2 separate regions of the Homo sapiens genome follow, and region 1 is linked to region 2. Evidence: promoter capture Hi-C in human tissues and cell types (Jung and others, 2019). All regions are on one chromosome and are shown on one strand. The core of a region is centred on a gene start or on the middle of the fragment in contact, and the rest is flanking DNA. Distances in the headings are between cores, read along the strand shown. Region 1 overlaps PTPRT (protein tyrosine phosphatase receptor type T). Region 2 holds the start of TOP1 (DNA topoisomerase I).

What was found. Contacts are between HindIII fragments. The study calls those that stand out against the background at their distance.
Region 1: a fragment that was not itself captured here is called in contact with the fragment with the promoter of TOP1 in region 2 in 1 of the 25 tissues and cell types used here (lymphoblastoid cells).

The regions. Positions count from the first base shown.
Region 1 is chr20:42,392,454-42,400,112 of GRCh38, reverse strand. The region is part of intron 9 of PTPRT (protein tyrosine phosphatase receptor type T); the gene reads left to right. Among named protein-coding and RNA genes, the nearest start is that of PTPRT-AS1, 570 kb to the left of the region's middle. The HindIII fragment of the contact is 6,662 bases long and covers 2,469-7,659 here.
Region 2 is chr20:41,024,194-41,031,430 of GRCh38, reverse strand. TOP1 (DNA topoisomerase I) reads right to left here and starts at 2,609. Exons shown (of 21, transcript NM_003286.4): 1 at 2,331-2,609; 2 at 1,976-2,000. The coding sequence starts at 2,363. LOC100128988 (a long non-coding RNA gene) reads right to left here. Exons shown (of 3, transcript NR_145525.1): 3 at 6,035-7,237. It also overlaps the pseudogene RNU2-52P. RefSeq lists silencers at 2,269-2,338, 2,559-2,910. The HindIII fragment of the contact is 11,082 bases long and covers 1-7,237 here.

The sequences.
Region 1 (7,659 bases), core at 4,550-7,049, 1.4 Mb before region 2:
GAGTTGGGTTAAAGACAACATGAGGCATCTGAGAACCATGTCAAACACTGATGTGGGCAGTACTGATGAGTGCATTTCAAAGTGGACCAGGCTGTGTTTTCTTGTCTGCCTGGAATGAACATCTGGACTCAACTGTTAACATTCAGTCCAATTTGTTGCTAAGGCAACCAAGTTACAGGCCACCCTCAATTTACAAAAGATGATATTGCAAAAGTCATCTTATAAGTCAGATATTTGAAAGACACAATACATTCTTCCGGGTGAAAAGTGATGTAAATGGTGGCTAGAATCTAGAGAATTGTATTTAACCCACATTGTTGTAGTACTTGTGCAAGATGAGTCAGTAAATATATCTCATGTCTCCAGGTCACAGCAATAGTCTCAAAACAATTTGGCTGCTAGGAAAAAAGGAGCCTCTCTCCAGTATTCCTCAAAATGAGTCTGAGCCCTCAGGATATCCTGTGTTTAGTGCAAAGATTTCAAAACCAGGTTAAGCATCTGGATTACCTGGGAGGGATTTACCAAAAGAGTTATTAGTCCAACCCCAGGCCTATCCCATTGAAATCAGAATCCTCTGTGGGCTCTAGGAGTAAGTGTATTTTTAAAGCTCCCCATCCCAGGTGATTCTGGTGCTATTTCTGAACTGTTATTTAGACTTCTTGGTTTGCACTGCCATTTTCTCCTCCCCTGCCTTGGCACTAAGGGTGGCTTCTCATATTGCTGCCCAAGCTTAAAGCTATGGTTACATAGGTGATAAACTCTGAGGGTGCCATAGTTCCTACCGCCGAAGGATGACCTTTGTGATAGATAATCTGTTACAATGCATAAAGTGTTATAGTAATGGTTCTCAGTGAATCATACATCCCTATGCCCATGCCCATGCCCCTTTGCAATGTGACATTGCCACTCTTCTCAGCAAGAGGCGGAGCCTAAGTCTCCAGCCCCTTAAATCCACACTGACTGTGAATCTTTTTGACTAATAGAAAGTGGTAGAAGTGATGATGTGCAAGTCTAGAAATGAGGTTTTCAAACGCCTTGACTGACTAGGAATGTTTGCTCTTGCCCTCCCAGTGTCTGGGGCCACCTTTCTGTGAAGAAACTCAGTCTGGTCTCCTGGAAAATGAGAAATTAAATGAAGAGAATCAGTGTCCTAACCAACAGTCAGGACCAACTGCCAGTTGTATGAGTGAGGCCATCTTGGAACATGCAGCCTCAGCTGAGCTTAGATGACTATGGCTACTTGAATGACATCGAGCAGTTCTAGCAGAACAGCTCAGGTTGCTAACTCAGAAAACTATAAGAAATAATCAATTATTGTTGTTTTAAGCCACTAAATGTTGGAGTACCAATAGATACCTGATTCAGCCCTATGTTTTTTTAAATTAAAAAATACATAAATTTAAAATGGAAAATTATTACACATAGAGTCTCTGTGAGGAGGTAATTATTGTTATTAAAGATGACTTCCTTCCAGAATTTTAATATTCAGATCAAGACATATACAAAGAGATTTTGTTCTTGTCGATGCGCCATTTGAATTCTGATATACATGCTATTTTGTAGCCTGCATATTTCATGAAATAATACACTCATCATTTTCACATCTCAAATAATATTTTGCATCATTTAATGACGATATAGTACTCCATCTTTGAGATGTACATACTTTATTTAACCTGCTCCTGTTTTTAGATAATTTTTGGCTGTTATGCTCAATGCTGTAATGAAAATCCTTGCACATAAATCTTCCCACATGTAAATGATTATTTTGTTAATACATTATGGCTACTGCTGCTTGATATTTTTGCCAATAGAATAGAAAAAAACCCATACCATTTTAATTTATTTCATTTTATTAACCATTAGTTTAATCAGATTTGTACACATCTATTGGTTATTCCTTTTAATCTATTGTTTTATTAAGGAATGATCCTCTCATGTATGTATTTTTTTTTACAATTTTTTTTGTGGAACAGACACACATACCTTGAGGTAGTATACCACAGACAATAGATCATCAAACCAGATACTACCTCTGCTACTTTCTAGTTATTTAATACAAAGTATGTTAACTACATTTTTCAAGCCTCAGTTTCCTCAAATTTACAGTGGAGATACTAGGTGCCTATTTCTTTGAATAGTTATGATTTTGATGACATAAGAAATTGCCCAAGAAAATGACTGGTACAAAGTAAGTGTCTACTGTTAGTGGAAATTAAAATTAGTCCAGCCACTGTGGAGAGCAGTTTGGAGATTTCTCAACGAACCAAGAGTTGAACTACCATTTGACCCAGCAATCCCACTACTGGGTATATACTCAAAGGAAAATAAATCATTCTGCCAAAAAGACACCTGTGATGTATGTTCATCACAGCACTAGTCACAATAGCAAAGACCTGGAATCAACCCAGGTGCTCATTAATGGAGGATCAAATAAAGCAATGTGTTACATATACACCCTGGAATATTATGCAGACCCGAAAAAGAAATGAAATCATGTGCTTTGTCACAACATGGATGCAACTGAAAGCCGTTAACTTAAACTAACACAGAAACAGAAAATGTTCTCACTTATAAATGGGAGCTAAACATTGAGTACACATGGACATAAAGATGGGAACAAAGACACTGGGAATTTCTAGAGGGGAAGGGAGAATGGAGGGTGGTAGCAAGGGCTGAAAAACTACCTATTGGGTACTACACTCACTACCTGGGTGACAGATTCATTGGTATCCAACCCTCAGCATCACGCAGTATACCTTTGTAACAAACTGGCACATGTACCCCTGATTCCAAAATAAAAGTTGACAAAAAAATTACATATCCAGTAACTATTGGCTTTCCTAGAGATTTGTTTCACAAAAACAAAAAATTGTTTATAACCTGTGTGCATTTTAATTAACGCAATATTTTCATTTATTCACCAAACACATGAATACGCATCGTAGGTCTAGCATTTTTCCAGGCACTGAAATGACAGTGGGAAAACTGACACCATCTCACTGGAGCTTATGTTCTAGTTGAGTGCGACAGATAGTAAATGAATATATAGTAAATCAGACGGCAATAATGCTGTCAGGTAAAAAAAAGCAGGATAATGGGGACAGGGTGTACTGGCCACCTGTGTGGGAGGGACATTTTATTTTCAATGAAAGACCTGGCTTTAAAGGTGGCATTTGAACAGAGACCTGAGGGAAGGCAAATTTCTGTCTGGAGGAAGGCTGTTCCAGGCAGTGAGAACAGAAAGTGCAAAGTGACCGGGCTCAGTGGCTCACGCCTATAGTCCCAGCACTTTGGGGGGCCAAGGTGGGCAGATAACCATGAGGTCAGGAGTTCCAGCCTGGCCAACATGGTGAAACCCCGTCTCTACTAAAAATGCAAAAATTAGCTGAGCATGGTGTTGGGTGCCTGTAATCCCAGCTACTCAGGAGGCTGAGGCAGGAGAATCACTTGAACCCGGGAGGCAGAGGTTGCAGTGAGCTGGGATCACACCACTGCACTATAGCCTAAGCAACAGAGCAAGACTGCGTCTCAAACAAAAAAGAAAGTGCAAAGGGCCTCACGGGAGAGACTGGTTAGCGTGTTCCAAGCCAGTGTGGTTGGAATAGAGTGAGTAAGGGAAAGAGTGGAAGAAACTAATTTGGCTTTTTGTTTAAATGGATCATGTTGTCTGCTCTGCTGACAACAAGCTAAAGGAAGGCAAGGATAGAAGTAGAGAGGCTGCTGAGCAGGCATTTTAATAATGCAGGTGAGAGATGGTGGAGGCTCAGACCAAAGTAGGAGGGAGTGATGAGAAGTAGTAGAATTCTAGATGTAGTTTTAAGATAAAGCCAATGGAATTTGGTAGCAAAGTAGGTTTGGGATGTGAAAGAAAGAGAGGAATCAAAAATGACCCCAGGTATTTTAGACTGAGCAAATGGAAGGATGGAGTTGCTATTAACTGAGATAGGAAAGACACTGGAATGAGCAGGTTTCAGAGAAAGATTGGGATTTAGGTTTGGCATCTGTTAAGTTTCAGATGGATTCCTGTTGGATATTTTGGGTGAGATATCAAGTAGACAGATATGCCAGTCTGGAGTTCAGGGGAGAAGTAGAGGACGGAGATGTTAGCAGGGGAGTCAGCCTATGCACGAGCTTTGCAGACGTAAAGCTGGAGGAGGTGAAAGGGTCTCAGTGTAGGTAGAATAGGGAGATTCTAGTGCTAAGCTTTGGGACCCTTGGATTTTTAAGGTGGAAAATTTGAGGCAGAATCATCAAATGAGACAGAAGTATCAGCCAATGAAGTAAGAAGAAAAATGAGGGCAGGGTCCAGGAAGCCAAGTAATAAAAAAAGAACAAAAGGAGAAGGTGATCCACTGTGTCAAATGCTGTTGGTAGTTCAGGTAAAATAAGGACTGAGAATTGACCATTAGATGCAGCAACAGAGAGGTCATTGGTGAGTTAACATTAGCAATTTATAAAGAATTGTGGGTACTGAAATCTGATTACACAGGCCCAAGGGAGAGCAGCAGGAGAGGAATTGTATAGAAAGATACAAAGAAGGCAGAGACAGGAGACAGTACCTGAAGATGTTCTCTGATCAAAAGGTGGGGAGTTGTTGGTATTTTATAAAATTTGAGAAATATTAGAACTAAAGGGAAATGATCCAATGGAAAGGGAAAAAGCCCCAAAGAGGATGGACACTGCTCTTGGGATGACGTTTGGTAAATGAGAGCACAGGGGGTCTCACTCACACATAGAAGAGTTGGTCTTAGATGCGGCATAGGTCCTTCTGCTGTAGAAAAAGGAGGGAAGACAGAATGTATGGGGATGGGTCAGTTAAGCTGACATGTGCCGTGTTCTCACCATGGAACTTCCATTTTCTCTATGAAACAGGAAGCAGGGTTATCAGCTAAGAGTGAGGAGAGCGTGGAGGTGTTGGAGGTTTGAAGAGACTCCATAAAGTAGGAAACAGTGTGGGAGTCTGAAAATGAGACTGAAATGGGGAAATGTAAAGGATCACCAGGAAATACCAAGGGAGCACTTGAGGTTAGCAGACAGGAGTTACAACGAGACCAGTTAGCATGGGTCACTGCTTTCCTCACACTTGTCCAGCAGACTCGGAGTAGGCAGAAAATATGGGCTTCAGCAGAGTTAATACTGTGACAAATGACTTAAATGAGCAAGAGGGGCAAGAACATTTTGAACATTTCTCAATATCAATGTATATTACATTTATATCACCTTCATTTTAATGGTTTCAGAGGATTCTGTAAAATGGGCTCAATCTATTTAGCCAGCTCCCTCATCTTGGGTATTTAGTTTTTTCTAGTTGTTCATTATTGCACTGAACAAATAATGATTCAATGAATTCCCCTTTATGTCACTCTTTGCTCATAGTTTTGATTCTTCTGAAAGTAGTATTGCTAAACAAATAGTAAAATAATCAGCTCTAAGTAACAAAGCCAACTCAAAATGACTTATACCATATGGAAAATGTGTCACATCATATAACAAGGTATCCAATCATATCCTAAGCTGCGGAATTGCTTAATTCATTATTTTAAAAACATCATGATTGACTCAGGTTTTTCTGCTCTGTCAACCCCAGTGTGTGGGCTTTGTCTTTAGGCTGGCCGTCCTCTTGGTCAGAAGATAGCTGCCATGCCCTCAGACATTTCCTGTGGACCTGGGGACATCCCTTCCTAAGAATCTCTTAAGCAAATATTCCCAGATGCACAATGTAAATTTCTGCTCACGTTTCATTGGCAAGAATGAGGTCCCATGCCCATAGGTTAACCGATCACTGGTGAAGAAAATAGTTATCATGATTGACTGAGATTCTTCAATATTTATTCTCGAGGTGGAATAAACCTTGAGATGGGATAAAGGGGGATCTCCTTTGATGAATGCATAGCCACATTAAAGAGTAAATACCACGCAAATCAGTGTTTGCCAGAAGTGAAGAAGAGGGCCGGGGAGAGAGATGGATATTACATAGACAAGTGTGTCTTCTGCTAAGGAAGATACACATTTTCACCATTTTTGAAGGCATATCCATCAAGTAGTAAAATTAAAAAAAAAAAAAAAAGACCTGTCACATCTTCATAGACTTTGTGCATTTTTACCTTCCTCCTTATTTGTTTTGGACAATCCTGCCTTACTGGGCATCTTGCAGGTTGTATTCGGGAATATAGGAAGCCGTAGTCTTCCCTGACTCTTCCATGCAATTCTGTTGATATCTACCCTCTTTACTCACCCAACGCTTGCGAATACAGTCAGTTCTGATGTCATGTGACCTATACATTCCTAAATATCGCCACGATATGTAAAATTGCACACTAAAAATTACAGGGCTTATAGGAAGAATGAAGTTAGGATACAATATTTAAAAACTTTATCAGTGACCCAAACAATAGGAACCTAGGAAAAATCTTAGCTCAGTTTTAGACATGTTAAATAGCTAAGGAATACATAAATACTACAATAAATATGGTACTTTACTTTGAAAGAGATGCAGTCTGTGTGTAAGTGGGCATCAGATTCCAACTTGTGTGTTATTGAGAAATGGTGTATGGAAGATCGTCTGAAATGGGAGGGAAAGTTGGAACCCCAGATGTGGCTGACACACACTGTAATCTGAGTGGGGAAGCAGATGTTTGAGGTGTATGAGTGCATACATTTTGTGTATTCCTTCGTGGTTGGTTCATCTGAGTGCAGTTTTCTCCAGTCACCTGCTTTTCTCTCCTGTGAAATGAGGCATAATCAAACATTTGTGTTATGTTCAAATTATTCCCTAATATACATGCATATTTTAAAAAGGGTTACAATGAAGATGGATTTACTGACTTCACAATCGATGGGGTTCAGAACATGCTACCCCCAAATATGGCACCTTGGCATTTGGGTAGACAGCAGAAGTAGGAGGATATCTCACCTTCCCCCAGCCTTCTCCCCTGAAGAAAGTCCTAAGACCCTTATTCCAGAGGTGCCCTTCCTATTCCCAGAGGAGAGGAACGTCCTTATCTCTGAAGACACAGGGGGATGGAGAAGAATCGTTACAAAATAGATCTTGCTAAATTCCCTTCAGTTTATCACCATTAGACAATCCCCACTTTTTCCAATTATATTTTGGCACAACTGTCCACTCTTCATCAAATGTAAGCATTAAAAAAAATCAGATTTTCCTCTTTCTTTGGGCCTTCTTTTCTGAAGACTTCCTTGTTGTGTAAAACATGTATTAAATAGATGCGTATGCTTTTCTCTTGTTAATCTGTCTTTTGTTTTAGGTGCCTCAGCCATGAACCTAGCAACCGATGAGGAAAGAAATCTTTTCTTCCCTGCACCACCCATGCCCTTTTCTGTCCTTTTCCATGTGAATTCCACCTTCTGAAAGCTGTTCAAAGTTTCTTGCATATGGATGATACTCCCTCTGAGTTTTCAGGGCCCGGGCAGGCTTTTCCAATCCTTATACTGTGAAGCCATAAATCTCTGAAGATAGGGGTAGAACTAAGCAGCTGTGATTATGTTGCAATCTTTTCTAGGAACCAAAGCTAGTTCTGCCTGACTCTGTAGCTCCTCACTTCTTCCTATGCCAAGCCAAGTGAACTGTAGGTCATTGCAAAATGGCAGTTATTTTTTTAAAAAGAAAGATAAATATGTGGGTTAAGGTAAGAAAAA
Region 2 (7,237 bases), core at 1,360-3,859:
GAGAACCATGTAAGTTAACTTTCTCACAAGAAAGGGCTAAACTTTGTTTCATTACTTACATTACCTACTCAGCCCAGCCTGACAGCCAAAAGAACACATTCCATATTAAAGATCCCACCTTCCTCTAGCAAGGTCAAAAGGACTTCTTACATCCTCACCTGCACATCCTTTCTTTGCTCCTGTATCCCAAAGAAACATGTCTATACTGTGGCTTTCTAAACTGCAGGCCTCACCTCCTCCCTCTTTTAAAATCGTGATAGGTTGGTTAAACGTACTTAAGAAACACTCCAACCCCTGACAATTCTCTGCGCCCAGTCTTCCACAACCCCCAGCTCAGAAGTCACCTCCTCTGAGAAATTTCCCCACCCTCAGACAAAATTAACTCCCCTATACTTCAAAGCATTTTGGGTACACATATGCCCCAGTAGTTACCTTATAATTAACTAATTATGTCTCCCCCAATAGACTGAATTGAGAGCAAGGGAGTGTTATGGTTACAGGATCAGCTCTAGCACCAAGCACAGTGGTTGGCACATATCTGGTGCTCAAGAAATGCCATACTTTAAACCAGATTCTCTCCTGGCTGAGTACCATCTCCTGCTGGATGCCCCACTTCAAACTCTGAACATAAGGTTGCTCTCAGTAGAGCAGGCTAACATGATGGACTGCTGATTACAACATTAGAAAACCTACTCATCAACTTCTCCCATTGGAGAGGTTCCCGGAACCCAAACTCAATTGAGCAGGATTATGTACCATCAAAATCAGTGGGAATTCCCAGCACACTACAGAAGGTAACTTCTCCTTCAACAGGGTTGTTCGAAAGCCTGCAAGGATGAGCTTTTTATTGGAGGACTCTTCCCTGGGTAACTGAAGTGGAAATACAGTAAGAATAAATGCCTTGATTTGGCTGAAAAGGGTTCAAAAACATAAAGAATTGGGAAAAAAAAAAAAAGCCAGTTCTTGATTCCTGAAAAACAGTGGCTCGTGAAAAAGAATGAACAGGAAGCAGGGGTGGGTACTGGACACTCTTTGCTTCAATAAATAAAATCTTTTTTTCCTCCTTACAACCCAAACGAAAAGGCCAACACACCAGGTCCACAAGAGATGCTCAACAATCTTTCCTTCCAACAAGTACACTAAACTGCGTTTCCAGAAAAACACTGCATTGGGAACCTCGACCACAATGAAAAGTTCCAGTGACTAACATAATTTTTTAAAAATCCAACATTTACATTGGGTGACCCACAGAGAACTTGCAAACTTTCTTTAGGGAGGTACTGCTACCTTTGCAAAGAACGTAACTTGGGAAAAACAACCTGGAAATATAAAGAACTCCACAAAGCGTGGCTTTAGTTTTAGAGCCATAATTCCTATCATAAACAGCCTATCAAAAAAAAAATTAACAGTTGCTTAAGGAAATCTTTCATTCTGGAAGCAGAAAAGGAAACAAACATGAAGCATAAAGGGAATAACCCCCAAAATAAAGTTTAAAAAATAATAATTCAGTCCCCCAGCCTTCCCTCTCTGGTGAAGTATGTGATTTATACGGCTTTGCTCTGCAGAAAGCTCATTCTGGGCAGCTCAAGGAAAGAGCCGAGGGAGGGAGAGAAAGAGACACAGGCACAGAAAGGAGAGGAGAGAGAAAAAGAAAATGGCGCAGAGACTAAGTCCCGACCGTCGACAAGGCGACTTTCCCGGGAGGAATCCCGGCCCGGAAAGACCGCCCGAGGCCCGGTGGCGGACGACACGGGGTCTCCGTTGTCCCCTCTTGGGAGGGCCGGGATCTGGAGGAGCTGGGGTCCCCGGAAAGGGGGTCAAGAGGCGGCCCGATGGGAACAATGGGGCCGGTGAGCGAGGAGCCGGGACTTAGTCTCTGGGACGCCATGTCTGTCCTCTGCCCGGCACCGGCAGGGCGCGGGGGAGGCGGCCGGCGGCTGGGGGGCCCCGGAGTCGGCGCAGGGGGCACACTCACCATTCAATCGGAAATCCGCTTCGATCTGGAAAAAGAAAAGGAGAGAATATCAAACAACAGCCACTTTAACCCCTCCGGCGGCGAGCGCGCGCGGCCGGGGTCTGGCTCACCCTGCGCCCCCGGGGAGGACGGGGACCCGGGGGTGGCCACAGAGGGCAGCCATCCCTGCCTCGAACTGTAACTTCGCGGCCCTCGCTCGCGGCCTAGCGAGCCGATCTACTCCGGCAGGCGGCCCCTCACCGGGGGCTCCGGCCTGTCAAAGCTGCCGGGCCGGGGCTGGGGTCGGGGCCTGCGCCGGGGGTCGCGGGACGGCCAGGCCGGGGTCCGGGGCCGCCAGGGTCAGGCCGGGCCGTACCTGGGAATCGTTGTGGAGGTGGTCCCCACTCATGTCGGCCCGGAGGGACGAGCGCGGCGGCAGGCGAGGCGGCGTGGGGGAGACGCAGACGGCGAACCGGCCTGTGCGGGCGGACGGGGACTCCGGAGGCTCGAGGAGGCGCAGGTAAGCGGCGGTGACTGTGGGCCCGAGACTCCAGAAACGGCTGAGGCTGCTACCACGGCGGCGACGCTGCCTGACTGCCGGGCGGGCGGCGAGAACAGACCCCAGCAGTTGTGTAACAGCCTAAGTTCGCATTTGGGCTCACTGCGCCTGCGCGGCCGCTTTTAAACAACACGTCGGCGACGTCAGCGCTCGCGGAAAGAGGCAGAGGGTTGCGGCCCGCCCCCTCGCTGTTCGCCAGACGGACCTGTCTTTGCATCGCAAGCCCCGCCTCCGGACCGTGCGCGCTCCGCTGTGATTTGCATAAGGAGCCGACTCCTCCCACGGCGTCCCACCCCAAGCAGCCTCCCCTTCCTCTCCAGACGCTTTTTCTCGGAACCCCAGCCCCTCTGCTAGGCAGTGCGCAGGCGCCACCCGGGCACCGCCTCCGGACCAGGGCTGGCCGCGCAGCCACGTGGTGGGCCTTTAAAGGCCGCGGCGGGACCCAGCAATCTTGGGCAGAGCTGGTATCCGGCGTCCGCATCTCCTTGGAGCGGCGAGTACCTTGGCAGCTGGGACCCCAGAGGTCTCCCCAGCGCCTCCTTTCTTGCTAAGCCGACCCTGAGGCCGCCTGGTGGGAGGAGTCCCCTCCCCAGCCTTTGTCCAGGCCCTCCAACTTCTGGATTATTTCACGCCCACTTTTTAAAAATTATTTTAATTTTTCAACCAACCAAGGGTCCGGTTTAACCCCAGTTTTCCGCCGAGTACATGTAGCCCTGGGTCACCAAGGGTCTGATTTCTTTGGTTCATTCTACAAATACTTATTGAGCATCCGCTATGAGCCCAGGAATTGTGCTGAGGGAAGGGGGAATGCAAGAGACCAAAGGGAACTGAACCTGTCTCTATCCGCCCCTGTATCCCTGGCATGCTGGGAGGACGGGGCAAATGGGGAATAGAACTACCGTTTATAGAGCATCTATTCTGTGCCCAGCTCTGAATTCTCACAATAGCTCTGTGAGGTCGCCTGTATTACAAAAGTCAAACTGTCCTAAAGACAAGGGACCAACAGCCAGCTACCTTGCATCTATAGTTGGATACCTCTCAAGCTTCTCTGGGAATGAACTGAACTCCACTCAGCTAGAAAAAGCCCCATCCTGACACCTTCCTTTCCCTCATTTCCCACTAGTCCCGCTGATTGCATCTCTTTGCTTCATCTACTTCTCTCTGCTGCCCATAAGCCTTTGAAGTCTGCGTTCTCCTGCTTGGATTAATACAATGTGCTGGCTGGGGGTGGTGTCTCACACTTGTAATCTTAGCACTTTGGGAGGCCGAGGCTGGCAGATCACTTGAACCCAGGAGTTCAAGACCAGCCTGGGCAACATGGCAGAACCCTGACTCTACAAAAAAATACAAAAACTGGCGGGGTGTGGTGGCATGTGCCTGTAGTCCCGGCTACTCGGGAGGCTGAGGTGGGAGGATCACCTGAGCCCGAGGAGGAGGTCGAGGCTGCACTGCACTCCAGCCTGGGCAACAGAGTGAGACCTGGTTTAAAAAAAACAAAAAACAAACCAACAAAAAACACCGCACTCCAAAACACTACACTTCTAACAGGGATTGCTGCTTCCATTCTTGGCCCTCTCGTAAACTGCATTCCAACAATTGCCAAAGTGATCTTCTCAATATGCTAATCTAACCATTACTCCTTTGTGGATATTGCCACATCTATTACCACTTTCACTATTATTATTTCATATTTTAATTGATCTCCTTTTTATTTACCTTCATCCTAAGTGTTATCTGTGAAATAATATCTATGAAATCATTTGGAAGTAAATATGAAAACTGTTCATCCAGTGGACCATCAGTATCTTTATCACATCTAATGTTTACCATCACATGTTTACCATTAGATGTGTTTACCACATCTTGTGAATGCTTCAAGATCAACCTAAATATCACTTTTTCAAAGTGACTCTCCGGCGCACTACTGACCCTGCTTCCACTGGCTGACCAAGGGTGCCTTATAGGCCAGGCGCGGTGGCTAACGCCTGTAATCACAGCACTTTGGGAGGTCAATGTGGATCAATCACTTGAGGTCAGGAGTTCAACAACAGCCTGGCCAACATGGTGAAACCCTGTCTCTACTAAAAATACAAAAATTAGCAGAGTGTGGTGGTTCACACCTGTAATCCCAGCTACTCGGGAGGCTGAGGCAGGAGAATCGCTTGAACCTGGGAGGCAGAGGTTGCAGTGAGCCGAGACCGCACCACTGTACCCCAGCCTGGGCAACAGAGCGAGTGAGTCTCAAAAAATAAATAAACAAATAAAAATAAAAGGTGCCTTATAGTATCTATCTCCTTTGTAACACTTATGACACTTGTTATTAAGTTACAAATGTAGTAATTGGTTTCCTGTCTATTTCCCCTATAGCAAGCAAGGTCTGTGAGAGGGGGGAATCTTGTCCATCTTGCCTACCACTGAATTCCCAGCACCCAGCAACAGGCCCTCCTACAGAAGAGGTGCTCAAGAAATGGGCAAATCAAAGCAGGTTACCCTGCTTTGGTTAGGAGCACACATTTGGAAGTCAAATCAACTTAGGTTTGAATTCTGCTCTGCTGTTTGTTACCTGTGTGATATCAGGCAAGTTGTTTAACTTCTCTGAGTCCCTGTTTCCTCATCCACTCCATGGTGATCATTGTGGGTATGTAATGACTATCAAAAAATAATGGTTTGAGGGCAGGCACCTAGTAAGTGCTGAGTCTTGGATTCATACTCAGGTCGGCCTGACTCCAAAGCTATACTCTTTCTCTGAAGCAAGCTGCCAGAGCCAGTTTTGCCTTGCTGTTGGTGTCTCTTCTCATACTCTTCCCATCTCAGGATCAATCCCTGGCCAGAAGATGAGGCATCTGCTTGCTGCAGTGAGTCCAAGATAATTTGAGGACGGCCTTCAGGAATAACAATGCATCCACACTACTCCACTCTCCCAACCCCCCGTTTCCCAGGGAGAATCTGCATTTGCTTTTTTTTCTTTTTTTTTTTTTTTTTGAGATGGAGTCTCTGTCACCCAGGCTGGAGTGCAGTGGTGCCATCTGGGCTTACTGCAACCTCCGCCTCCTGGGTTCAAGCAATTATCCTGCCTCAGCCTCCCGGGTAGCTGGGATTACAGCCACGTACCACCACACCCAGCTAATTTTTGCAATTTTAGTAGAGACAAGGTTTCACTATGTTGGTCAGGCTGGTCTCAAACTCCTGACCTCGTGATCTGCCCACCTTTGCCTCCCAAAGTGCTGGGATTACAGGCATGAGCCACTGTACCCAGCCTGCATTTGCTTTCCAGGCCCCTCCAAAGAAGACTAGGTAGGCATGAAAACAGCACAGACTTCACAATGGCAGACCGAGGACATCCCCGTGCACAGACATGGAAATATCCGGGCAGTCTTGTCACAGGCTGAACTTCTCTGCCAGCATGTGTGGCTGGCAGTGCTCAGAGGTTGACTGACTTACTCTGTCTTACAGAGACCACTCCTGACTCCTAACACTTCAAACACATGTCCCCACCATATGGTACTTGAGGAGATTATTGATAGTGCATGGACAAGCATTTTAATTCTAATAGATATGTATTTCGATGTGTATGAGAAAAAATAACCATTGTTTTAAGGATATAACTGGGATGAGGCTTTTTAAAAAAGTGATTGATTTACATAAAAACATATAGGAATAGTGCACAGAGCGGACATATAAGACAAACTCCAGGAAGGCTATAGGCAAATAAATGAGGTTTGGGAAACACTGCTTTAAATCAAGACTGTTCACTCATGGACCATCCCAACCCTTATAAAAATAACTAGCAGGTGAAAACTGGTAGTGTAGGTCTGTCTCCAAAGTATGCATTGGGAACAGTGGACGGTTTATAGATAATCCACTAAAAGAAGAGCTCCACATACAAATACATACATTATTATATTTACAGTTAAACAGGTTTTTTCCCAGGTGCCTTCTCAGGGTCTTCCATATGTAAATACTTACGTGACTCTTGAAAAGAGGGACATGGTGTGCAGCATCTCCAAAATGTAGGCAAACCCGGCCAGGAGCGGTGGCTCATGCCTGTAGTGCCAGCACTTTGGGAGGCCGAGGGCGGGGGTGGATCACCTGAGGTCAGGAGTTCGAGACCAGCCTGGTCAACATGGTGAAAACTCGTCTCTACTAAAATTACAAAAATTAGGCCGGGCGCAGTGGCTCACGCCTGTAATCTTAGCACTTCGGGAGGCCAAGGCAGGCAGATCACCTGAGGTCAGGACTTTGAGACCTGCCTGGCCAACATGGTGAAACCCTGTCTCTACTAAAAATAGAAAAATTAGCTGAGCATGGTTGGCACACACCTGTAATCCCAGCTACTTGGGAGACTGAGGCAGGAGAACTGCTTGAATCCTGGAGGCAGAGGTTACAGTGAGCCAAGATGGCGCCACTGCACTCCAGCCTGGGTGACAGAGCGAGACTCCATCTTGGAAAAAAAAATGTAGGTAAATCCAAAAACACTTTTTTCCAGACTACCTCTTGAGACTTGGGCTTTTTGGGGGTGGTAGAGAGGGTGCACCATTCCTGGAGGTACTGCAATCCAGGCCAATGTGTAGAGTGGACAGAGCAAGCTCCTATTCCATCTCCTTGCTCCAAAAATCTATTTATTATATTATCCTCAGATAGAGGATGTATCAGATATTAAACTGGTAAGAACAGATACTGCACATGATCTTAGCCAGAAGGCCAAGAAGCAATGAGACTTGAGC